2 separate regions of the Homo sapiens genome follow, and region 1 is linked to region 2. The links are contacts of gene promoters, found by promoter capture Hi-C in human tissues and cell types (Jung and others, 2019). All regions are on one chromosome and are shown on one strand. The core of a region is centred on a gene start or on the middle of the fragment in contact, and the rest is flanking DNA. Distances in the headings are between cores, read along the strand shown.

Region 1 (5,783 bases), core at 2,835-5,334, 180 kb before region 2:
TGCCCTGGGGCTTGACCTCAAACCCCTGGCAAACATCAGCATGAGGGAACAGCCCCTCCTGAATGGCCAGCCACCTGACCCTCAGCCTTGTTCTACTCTCATCCTGCCCTGGATGGTCAGGGAACTGCTCAGTCACTATAAGGTCAGCAGTGGCTGTGCCCACGGATGGAGGAGCAGACCCTGCATTGGCCTCATCCTCCTTTATCCCCACACTGTGTTGCTCCCATTCCACCTGCCACTTCATCCTGCACATTTGCCCCACAGCTCTCTCACAGTTTCTCACCTGCAGAGGAATTGTTCTTTCCTTCTCCCGTGAGCAGACACAAGGTTCTCTGCCAGGCCAGGAAAGTCCCCACAATCTAGGTCTCTTCACTGACACTTGCACTCAGCTGTCACTCTGTGTCCACAGGGTCTGCGGAAGAGGGAGCTGCTGAAGGAGCTGCTACCAGTCATCGGGCAGAACCTCCGATTCCAGCGCCTCTTCACCGAGTGTCAGGAACAGCTCGACATCCTGAGGGACAAGTAGCCTGCCCCAGCCTGCCCTGGCTGCAGCAAGGGCAGGGCCACACTCTCGCCGCTGATGACATGCAGGACCGCCTCTCACCTGACCAGGCTGTAGGGGGAGGAGACACTGGCAGGAGATGTGCTGTCCTGCACCAGCGCCAGCCCAGCTCCCTGGGCAGATGTGCCCTGTGTCCTGGGTCTGACATTGCCTCAGGAGGGGGAAGCTCATCCCTCCCTCCAAGCCCCCGATGCGGAGCTAGGGCTGGAGCTCTGCCCAGGTGCCCTGGGGCCAGCAAGGCAGTCCCAGGCCTGCCGTCTCCAGCACGGCCCCAAGGTGGACACTAGCCCCTGCTGCTGCAGGCACCATGCTGCTTCAGCAGTGACGATTGAGCCATTTGTGAGAGAGAATCCGGAAGCGTTAGGTATTACAGCAGACTGACCTAAGACCTATGTAAAAGGAAAGCTGTTCCAACACACGGACTATTTTTGTACTAGAATTTGCTAACTTGTAATATTGAATTTCCTTTGGCCGATAATCAGGATTTCCCTATAAGTCACTTGGACATTGGTCACTTGTAGGAAATTTAAACTCTAATTATGACAGCTACACTGAAAAATAATTGTACTGAAATTAACTTGTCTATCTTCATTTGGTTTTAATTTTTAAATGTTTGTAAAAAGAGACTGTTTTGGGGGAATGGGGCAAAGGGGTGGGCGATTTCTTTTGTAAGTGTAAAATAAATGAACACGCATTGAATACCAAACCCTCCTGATTTCTCTTGCCTTTTCCTTCTAACTTTCATCCTCCCCACACAGTGCATCTCTCTCCTGAAGTAGATGGTGACAGAACATGAGAGCCAGAAGGGATCCTTTGTGTCATCTCATTCCCCCCTGTCATGGTTAATACTGCGTGTCAACTTGATTGGATTGAAGGATGCAATATTGATCCTGGATGTGTCTGTGAGGGTGTTGCCAAAGGAGATTAACATTTGAGTCAGGCTGGGGAAGGCAGACCCACTCTTAATCAGGTGGGCACCATCTAATCAGCTGCCAACGAATATAAAGCAGGCAGAAAAATGTGAAGAGATGAGACTTGCTTAGCCTCCCAGCCTACATCTTTCTCCCGTGCTGGATGCTTCCTGCCCTCAAACATCGGACTCCCAAGTTCTTCAATTTTGGGACTCGAACTGGCTCTCCTTGCTCCTCAGCTTGCAGATGGCCTATTGTGGGACCTTGTGATTGTGTAAGTTAATACTTAATAAACTTTCATATATATCTATTAGTTCTGTCCCTGTAGAGAACCCTAATATACCCCCCATGCAGAAATTCATTTCACAGTGTAGAGTGGTCACTTCTGTGGTCATGAAGCACCATAGGTCACCTTGCACACGTCATCTCACAAGTGAGGAGTCATGGTTCATGGTGGTTCATGGTTCTGGTCTTGCTGTGCCCCAGGTCCAGATCATACTGTGCACCAAGGGCTGCAGCTGTTTGGACAATTTCATGAAAGGAAATCAGTATTTACAGTCTTGGGTATATTGGAGAATTATCAGCAAAGTTGGAATTTTATTAGAAAGTGATCCAGACGTTGATCTACAGGAGAAGAAACAGAATCACAGAATCTTTAAGCACAGTGAGGGCTGAGTACCACCCACTCCTGGGTCCTGATCTTTGTCACCACCACCCAGTGTGTGGGTCTGAGCCTGGAGAAGGAGCCTTGGACTTGGAGTCAGAGGCCGGGGTAACTGACCACTGATCTCTGGCCTAGCAGCCATTCCACTCCATGTCTCACTCGGATGTCAAGTGGCTGGATGAGACCCAGGCATGTGTTCATGCCAAATAAAGCCAGGATAGTTTGTGTGAGTGTGTGTGTGTGTACACATAAAAAGCCAGGCTGCAAGTGGGACTCTTAAGGAATGAAGAGCCAGAGACTTGCTGTGCAGGTGAGGCAGCTCCCTTAGCAACTATGCAGCAAGACATTGCGAGCTTTGTGGAGCTCCAGGAAGCAATATATGCCAACAGGCCTGTCTGGGCTCCAAACCAGCAAACATCTGGGCCTCAGTTTTTTAGCTGTCAAATAGAGATTGAGACTAAAAAAATCTGCACTGGGGTCGGGCACAGTGGCTCACACCTATAATCCCAGCACTCTGGGAGGCCAAGGTGGGCAGATCACGAGGTCAGGAGTTCGAGCCAGCCTGACCAACATGATGAAACCCCCGTCTCTACTAAAAATACAAAAATTAGCTGGGTGTGGTGGCACACACCTGTAATCCCAGCTACTCGGGAGGCTGAGGCAGGAGAATTGCTTGAACCCGGGAGGCAGAGGTTGCAGTGAGCCAAGATCGCGCCACTGCACTCCAGCCTCGGCAACAGAGCAAGACTCCGTCTCAAAAAAAAAAAAAAAAAAAAAAATCTGCAACGTTATGAGGACAAATTGAGATTGTGTGGGCAAAGTCTTCGCACGTTTCCTCCCTTGAAGGAAACAGCAGTCGTGAGTGACTTTACCACCACCGTTTGGAGATGATGAAGAGATAAGCAGAAAACATCAAGGCCTTCAACTTACAGACAAGATGGAGTAACAGGGACCAGGTTGACCCTTCTACCTGAAACAACCAAAGGAGCCCGTCAAAAATACATGCAATGGTGGTTTCAAGACACTGGATACCATGCTGGGCACAGTAGCATGCGCTTGGAGACCTAGCTACATGGGAGGCTGAGGTGGGAGGACCATTTGAGGCCAGGAGTTCAAGGCTGCAATTAGCCATGATCATGGCACTGCACTCCAGCCTGGGCAACACAGGAAGATCCCATCTTGAAGAAAAAAAAGAAAAAGAAAAAAACAGAAGAAGACACTCCAGGTAGTACGCTTGGGCAATCATGGGGCTCACCTTGTTTGTATCCCATCTTGGCAGGGATTACTGTCCTTTGTTTTCTGATATCCAGAGAGAATTTCTAGGCCACAGCAAGAGGAGGCAGAACTGAGGTAGAGCCCAGTGGACTACTTGAGCTGAGGAAATGGAGCTGAGAGTCCAAGGAGACTAAGGCAGCACTGCTTCAGATCCACCTACCAAAAAATAAAAGCAAGACCCAAAATGATCACACTGTTTCCTGACCAACATAGTAAAACCTCCTCTCTACTAAAATACAAAATTAGCCAGGCATGGTGGCACATGGCTGTCATCCCAGATACTTGGGAGGCTGAGGCAGGAGAATCACTTGAACCTGGGAGGCAGAGGTTGCAGTGAGCCAAGATTGCACCACTGCATTCCAGCCTGGGCAACAAGAGTGAAACTCCGCCTCAAAAACAAAAAATTAGCCAGTCATGGTGGTACACACCTGTAATTCCAGCTACTCAGGAGGCTGAGGCATGAGAATCGCTTGAACCCAGGAGACAGGTTGCAGTGAGCTGAGATCGCGTCACTGCACTTCAGCCTGGGTGACAGTGCGAGACTGTCTCAAAAAAAATTTAAAAAGCTGGGCGCGGTGGCTCACGCCTGTAATCCCAGCACTTTGGGAGGCTGAGGCGGGCGGATCATGAGGTCAGGAGATCTAGACCATCCTGGCTAACACGGTGAAACCCCGTCCCTACTAAAAATACAAAAAATTAGCCTGGCGCAGTGGTGGGTGCCTGTAGTCCCAGCTACTCGGGAGGCTGAGGCAGGAGAGTGGCGTGAACCAGGGAGGCGGAGCTTGAAGTGAGCCAAGATAGCGCCACTGCACTCCGGCCTGGGCGAAAGAGTGAGACTCTGTCTCAAAAAAAATAAAAAAATAAAAAGAAAGAAAGAAAGAATTTATGACTAAGGACTCAAAAGCAAATACAACAAAAAAGTAGACAAATTAGACAAACTAAAAAGCTTCTGTACAGCAAAAGAAATAACAGTAACAACACATATCTATTAGAATGGCTTACATTTTTTAAAAAGACAATAATGTGTATTAGTGAGGATGTGGAGCAACTGGAACTCTCATGCATTGCTGGTAGGAAGAATAGTTACTTTGATAAACAGTGTGATCGTTCCTCATAGAATTAAACATATACTTGCTCTATAACCTAGGTACTCTATTCCTACGTCTGTTGGTTTTTCTCAAGATGGAGTACGTTTTCCTCAGGAGGATGGCTCAGGACAGGTGCAATGGCTCACGCCTGTAATCCCAGCACTTTTAGGAGGCCAAGGCAGGTGGATCACTTGAGGCCAGGAGTTCGAGACCAGCCTGGCCAACATGGTGAAACCCTGCCTCTACTAAAACTACAAAAAAAAAAAAAAAAAAAAAAAAATTAGCCAGGTGTGATGGCAGGTGCCTGTAGTCTTAGCTACTCAGGTGGCTGAGGCAGGAGAATCGCTTGAACCTGGGAAGCAGAGGTTGCAGTGAGCTGAGATTGTGCCACTGGACTCCAGCCTGGGTGACAGAGCAAGATTCCATCTCAAAAAAGAAAAGATTATGGCCAGGCACAGTGGCTCACGCCTGCAATCCCAGCACTTTGGGAGGCCAAGACCGGCGGATTACTTGAAGTCAGGAGTTCGAGACCAGCCTGGCCAAAATGGTGAAACCCTGTCTGTACTAAAAATACAAAAAATTAGCCAGGCATGGCGGCACGCACCTGCAATCCCAGCTACTTGGGAGGCTGAGGCAGGAGAATCACTTGAACCCAGGAGGCAGAGGTTGCAGTGCGCCGAGACCATGCCATTGCACTCCAGCCTGGGCAACAGAGCGAGACTCTCAAAAAAAAAGAAAAGGATGGCTCATGTTTTGCTTAAAAAAAAAAAAACGGCTTTACTGAAATAGTTAACAGCATGCGATTTACAATCTAATGATTTTCAGTGTAGTCACATCATATGTGCAGCCATCACCACAGCCATTATTAGAATCTTTTCATCACCTCAGTAAGAAACCCCATACACTTTAACCACAGCCATTATTAGAATCTTTTCATCACCTCAGTAAGAAACCCCATACACTTTATCATGCCCTATCCCCGATCCCCATCATTCTGAGGCAACCATCAACCTGCTTTCCGTCTCTATAGATTTGCTTATTCAGAACATTTCATATAAATTGAATCACAGAATATTGCTCTTGTCTGGCTGCTTTCACTTAGCATAATATTTTCAAGTTTCATCCATGTTGTAGCATGTATCACTATTCCACTTCTTTTTATGACCAAATAATATTCCATTGTATGCATCATTTTGCTTACCTGTTCATCTGTTGATGGACATTTGGATTGTTTCCACCTTTTGGCAATTATGCATAATGGTACTATAAACATCAGCGTACAA
Region 2 (5,651 bases), core at 9-2,508:
TCGGTCACAGTGATGTCCACAGCACTTTCACTGATAGCAGAGTGGGGATGGCAGAGTCTTGCAGAGGGGCTGGCGGCGGGAGGAGCGCAGGAATACGCATTGCCCTGGGGAGGCGGCCAGGTTCTAACCGTCTCACACCTAGTCACTACACTTTACAGATTGGGAAAGCCAAGCCCAGAGGCTGAAGACGCCTATGGAGGTCACACGGCCAGAAATTGACAACGGAGTATGAGCCAGGCCGTCTGTTTCTCTGTGCTATGAGTCCCATACTGTATTTTCAAAGGTCAAGAGGAAAGGGTCTTAAGCTGAAGTGACGGTCCCGCTGCCAGGAGCCGCTTCACTGAGGGTGAAACAATGTAGCCAAGTGCGGGTCACCTGCGCTGTGGCAGAAGGGACCGAGGACGGTGTGGCCAGAGGACTGGCCTGGGCGGAGAGCGAGGAGGGGGAGCCCACAGCTTCTGGGGGGCAGTGACAGTGCGGGGAAGGGCGAGGTGCAGTGTTGGATGTTTTCGCGGGGATTCTGGGACCAGTGGGAAAGCTGGAGGACAGGCGGCTCTGAAGCACCGAGGAGGGGCCTCGGAAGGGGCGGGGAGGTCTCCTTGACACAGGTGAGGAGACGGAGAACTGGGGGCACCCGGCAGCCCAGGCTTCCTGCCGCGCTCTCACGCCCTCCAGGGCCATGAGACCCTGGCTCCGAGGTGGCGGGCAGGTTCGGGACCCGAGCGCGGCGGGATCGTGCGGTTGCCGGTGGTGCTGGGCCCCATGGAGGCTGCGGTCCAGGAGTTTCGGGTGGGCGGCTAGGCCGAGCTTCTGCAGGCGTGCTGAGCCGCCGCAGTAGGGCCCCAGAGGGGACGAGGAATTAGGCCCAGCCGAACGAGGGGGAGCCACCAGAGGCTGGGCCGGGAGGCACCGCCGCGCTCTGGGGAGCTGCCAGGGTCGGGGCGCCCTCCGAGCGGCTGCCAGGCCCCGCGGGCGGCGGCGAGGCGGCCCTCCGCCCCTTCCCCGCAGGTCGCCCTGCCAGCTTGAGCGGCGGGCGCGGGTGGGGCAGGAGGACGCGGGGCGGGGTGGGGGGCACAGGGGGCCCTCTCTGCAGCGCCCCCGGCCCCCGCGCGCGGAGGCAGGGCCGCCGCAGTCGAGGATTAGCGCGTTCGCGGCCGGCGCTGCGGGATTAACCCGCGTGGACTGGACGCCCGGCCCGGGGATTACTGCGCGCTCCCTCCCCGACGTATATATTCCCGCGGCGGCGGCGCCCCGGCCGGGCCGGGCATGGCGGCAGCGGCTGGGGGCGCGGCGAGCCGCCGGGGTGCCGGGCGGCCCTGCCCCTTCTCCATCGAGCACATCCTCTCCAGCCTGCCCGAGCGGAGCCTCCCGGCCCGGGCCGCCTGCCCACCGCAGCCCGCCGGTCGCCAGAGCCCCGCGAAGCCAGAGGAGCCCGGGGCGCCCGAGGCTGCGCCCTGCGCCTGCTGCTGCTGCTGCGGCCCCCGCGCGGCGCCCTGCGGGCCCCCAGAGGCGGCCGCCGGGCTGGGTGAGTGGGCGCGGAGCGGGGCGCGGGGCCCGGCGGAGCCCGGGGCGCGGCGCAGTGGGTGCCGAGCTTGGCCCCAGCCCCGCGCCTCACCGCGCCCTCGCTCCGCAGGCGCTCGTCTGGCGTGGCCGCTGAGGCTGGGACCGGCGGTGCCCTTGTCTCTGGGTGCGCCAGCCGGAGGTTCCGGGGCGCTCCCGGGCGCGGTCGGCCCGGGTTCGCAGCGGCGCACGAGGCGCCACCGCACCATCTTCAGCGAAGAGCAGCTGCAGGCGCTCGAGGCGCTTTTCGTGCAGAACCAGTATCCTGACGTGAGTACGCGCGAGCGCCTGGCCGGCCGCATCCGCCTTCGCGAGGAGCGCGTGGAGGTGAGTGCCCCGCCCAGCCTTTCCCCGGAGCGCGCGGGCCGCGGCTACACTGGACTGGGGTCCTGGCGGGCGGGCGCCCTTTGCAAAGACGGCCTCGGCCCAAGCCCCGCCCTGGCGCGCCGGAGGGAGGAGGTCCCTGGACGGCGCTGGGCGTCCGGGGGTATGAGGAGCGGGTGAGAGCAGGGAGGTGCCGCGGGAAAGGAACCGGAGGGCTACTTTTCTTTTCTTTTGTTTTACACTTTCCTCTGGTGACGAAAGAGGCCCGCGTTCACGTCCAGAATTTGGGAAATTCAGAAGAGCCCGCAACCCAAGAAGGGGCGTCCTGGTCGCCGCCAGCTGGAGGCTGGGGCGGGTACTAAGGGGGTTCCCATCTCGCGTCCAGACCCACCGAGTCTGTCCGCAGCGAATAAGGGCAGGTGGCGCGCAGCCGCGGCCCGGGTGTCGGCTCTACAGCGCCGTCCGCCCACATCCCTGTTGCGAAGCTCCCCTCTCGGTCCCTGTGGGACCCTCGGGAGCCGGTGGGACGCAGGACCTGGGGCTAGGGCTGAGCATTCCCCCCATCCCCAGGTCTGGTTCAAGAACCGCCGGGCCAAATGGCGACACCAGAAGCGCGCGTCGGCTTCCGCGAGGCTCCTGCCCGGCGTCAAGAAGTCCCCGAAGGGGAGCTGCTGATGACTCTAGGAGCTGCCCCTGGGCTCGGCCACCCTTTTTGGGATCTTTGGAGTTGGCGCTGAGAGAAGACAGGTCTACCCGAAAAGGAGCTGGGAGAGTACACCGGCCGCCTCCACCCGTCTCCACAGCCCTTGCCTCCTGCAGCTCGTGCTGCCGTGGCGCTGGGGACGGGCCCCCGGTGCTTGGTGTTCCACGGCAGTGGGAGTGGCGAGTCCCTTGGGGGTGGGCTGGGGCATAGAGCAGTTTCCTCAGCTCCCTACCCCCCGAGAGACACTAACTCCACCGCAGGAGGGGAACCACCCCGTATCAACACGGGACCCAGAATCCTACGCAGTGGAGCGTCTCTCCGCACCCTGGGACATGCTGGCCACCCTCTTCTCAATGTGGACATTGACCTAACTTGACCTGGCTCGTCCTCCCCCAGCGGGAGAGGGGATGGGGTTCGTGTCTGTGCAGTCCTGGCGTTGCAGGCTTCCCAGGCCCTGGGCTGGGTCTTGGTATCTGGACCTGTAGAATAAGAAGGTCGCAGGAGCGATTCCAGGAGCCCCTCCACAGTCCCTTCACCTTCGAGCCTCGCGCTGATACTGAGAAACTAGCAACTTCAAATACCACAGAAGCCGCCCAGAGTCTCAAGTCCACCTTGGCTCCACTCCCACACCCAACAAGGAGCTGTCCCTTCTTCTTCCTTCCCAGCGAGGGGGTATTTAGGGTACAGCTGTCTTTGAGAGGAGCACAGCTCAGCGATCCTCAGTCTCTGCACCAGGGTGCTCCCCAGCAGAGGGGACTGCTCCACGGATGGTGGCCTTGGACCCCTGGGGTCCAGCCCTGGCCTCTAGGCTACTGTGAACCTGCCCATGGGTGAGGGTCCCCTGCTTCCTCCTGGGGTTTTCATGCTGTGGGCTCGGACTCCCTCACAGCAATCTGTGCCATCCTAGGGTAGGGCAAGAGGAGGTTGGACTGGGGAGACCCCGCCCCTGCTGCCTGGGAAGATGCCTGCCCTCCCCTTCTTTATCCTGGCCCATGGCAAAAGGCACAGTGGAAAGAAGCCTTAGATTCCCCAAGTAGGCCCTACAGTGGGTCCAAAGCATCTCACATCCCCACCCCCAGCTGGCTTGAGCACCTCGTTCTGTCTCCTTACAGGCCCTGCAGGGAATGGGGCCATTCTACCTGCAAGAGATGAAGTCCATCTCTAAAAGCAGGACTGCAGAAGCCAGGGCTGCAGCTCCCCAGACACCCCAAGGCTGGCCAGCTTGGATAACACCAAGCAAGCATGGTGTCCCCAGTCAGAACTGCCCTGACACTGCTGGGTGTCCCTAGCATCCCCGCCTCCACCCCTAGCATGCACACAAAGCCCTTCTCCCTGAACCCTGGTCTTGCCCTTGGGGACTGAACAGACTACCTGTGGACATGCCCGTGTCCCAGTCAGCTCCCTTGCAGCTGGGGACACTCGCATCTCACAGGCTCCAGGCCCCTTGAGTTCCTTGGTTGAATGGCCATCTGTCATTGTTTTGGGAGCCCCGATCAGAGCTTGTGGAGCGCCACCTTCCAGGGCTCAGTGGCTGTGTTGCTCTCCTGAATTTGCTTCTTGAGCTCTAGCTGCTCCTTGGCAGGCTGACCCCCCACAGCAGGCTATTAACATAGGCATCCTTCACGCTCACACCCAGGCGCTCGCTTCTCATCTTCACCCTCTTCCCGGTTTATCTTTTACCCTCAGACTCCAATTCCCATCTTTCTGCCACATTTACATCTCAAGCCAGGCACTTCCCCTGAGCCAGGTATTTATCTCCAGCTGTCCCCTTGAAGCCCACAGACTCCTTAAGGTCACCTTGTCCACAGTGAGCTCTTCTGTGCAAACCAGGCACATGAGCCAGAGAGCTAGCCGCCCACCCGAAACTGGTCCCTGGACCCCTCCCTCTCCTGATCATCCACTATACCCAGGCTGACAGGAAGTCAGTTTTACTGTTTATCAATAAATCAATAAATCCCAGAATCTCTCCAGCTCTAACTGCACCAGTCTGATGTAAGCCACCGTCACCTCTCACCTTGACCACTGCAACTGTCTCTAATCTTGTCCACCTGCACCACACTGGCTCTGCTTTTTTGTTTGTCGGTTGGTTTGAGACAAGGTCTCGCTCCATCACCCAAGCTGGAGTGTAGTGGTGCAATCATGGCTCACTATAGCCTCCAGCTCCTGGGCTCAAGCGATCCTCCCCCATCAGCCTTCTGAGTAGCTAGGACCACAGGTGGGCACCACCACACCCGACTAACTTGAAAAGTTTTTTGTAGAGATGAGGTCTTGCCATGTTGGCCAGGCTGGTCTCAAACTTCTGACCTCAAACTATCCGCCGGCCTAGGCCTTCCAAAGTGCTGGGATTATAGGCATGAGCCACTGTGCCTGGCCTGCCCCTTCAATTCAGAATGAAGACAAACCACCTCACCATACCCTACAAGGCCCTGTGCAGCCTGGCCCTGCCTCTCTGGCATCATCTCACACCTCACTGCACTCTGCATTTCCAAAGGACTTCTTTAGAACTTGCCTTGCTCCCTCCCACCACTAGGCCTTTGCACATGCTCTTTCCACCTGACTGTTGCCGGTTTGTTCGTCTTTTGAATCTGCAATCACTTTCTGCCTGGGGAAGCTTCTCTGACCTCCCGAACTAGGTCAAGATTCCCCAAGTACAAACTCTTTTCTTGCACGGACACAGCTGCAATTTTACACCTGTTTGTGTGATGATCTAACAAGTGTCTCTGTCTTCCCCATTGCACTGTCACTTCTACAAGGGCAGCAGCAGCACGCTGCACTTCAGTGAATGAAGGTATCCCTGTATGTTGCAAAAGCAAAATTGTATTAAATTGTTCCAGGGCGGAATTTATTTGTCCAACACAATTCACATCTTTCGTTTGGGAAGAAATTCCTTAAAAATGCCGAGGCAATTTTCTGGTTCACTTGAATATTAATTTTTTTTTTTCTTGACAGAGTTTCACTCTGTCACCCAGGCTGTAGTGCAGTGGCACAATCTCTGCTCACTGCAGTTTCCACCTCCTGGGTTTGAGTGATTTTCCTGCCTCAGCCTCCCAAGTAGCTGGGACTA

What was found. The method cuts DNA at HindIII sites, captures the fragments that hold promoters and counts their contacts. A contact is called where the count stands out against the background at its distance.
Region 1: a fragment that was not itself captured here is called in contact with the fragment with the promoter of GSC2 in region 2 in 2 of the 25 tissues and cell types used here (H1 embryonic stem cells and IMR-90 fibroblasts).

What each region holds. Positions count from the first base shown.
Region 1 is chr22:19,326,183-19,331,965 of GRCh38, reverse strand. LOC105372859 (a long non-coding RNA gene) reads right to left here. Exons shown (of 6, transcript XR_938002.3): 2 at 3,393-3,568; 3 at 1,886-1,991; 4 at 284-412. It overlaps HIRA (histone cell cycle regulator), which reads left to right. Exons shown (of 25, transcript NM_003325.4): 25 at 410-1,268. The coding sequence ends at 526. Among named protein-coding and RNA genes, the nearest start is that of CLTCL1, 37 kb to the right of the region's middle. The HindIII fragment of the contact is 5,118 bases long and covers 1,526-5,783 here.
Region 2 is chr22:19,145,899-19,151,549 of GRCh38, reverse strand. GSC2 (goosecoid homeobox 2) reads left to right here and starts at 1,258. Exons shown (of 3, transcript NM_005315.2): 1 at 1,258-1,525; 2 at 1,634-1,887; 3 at 2,455-4,557. The coding sequence starts at 1,267. The coding sequence ends at 2,559. RefSeq lists an enhancer at 1,807-2,306. The HindIII fragment of the contact is 19,488 bases long and covers 1-5,651 here.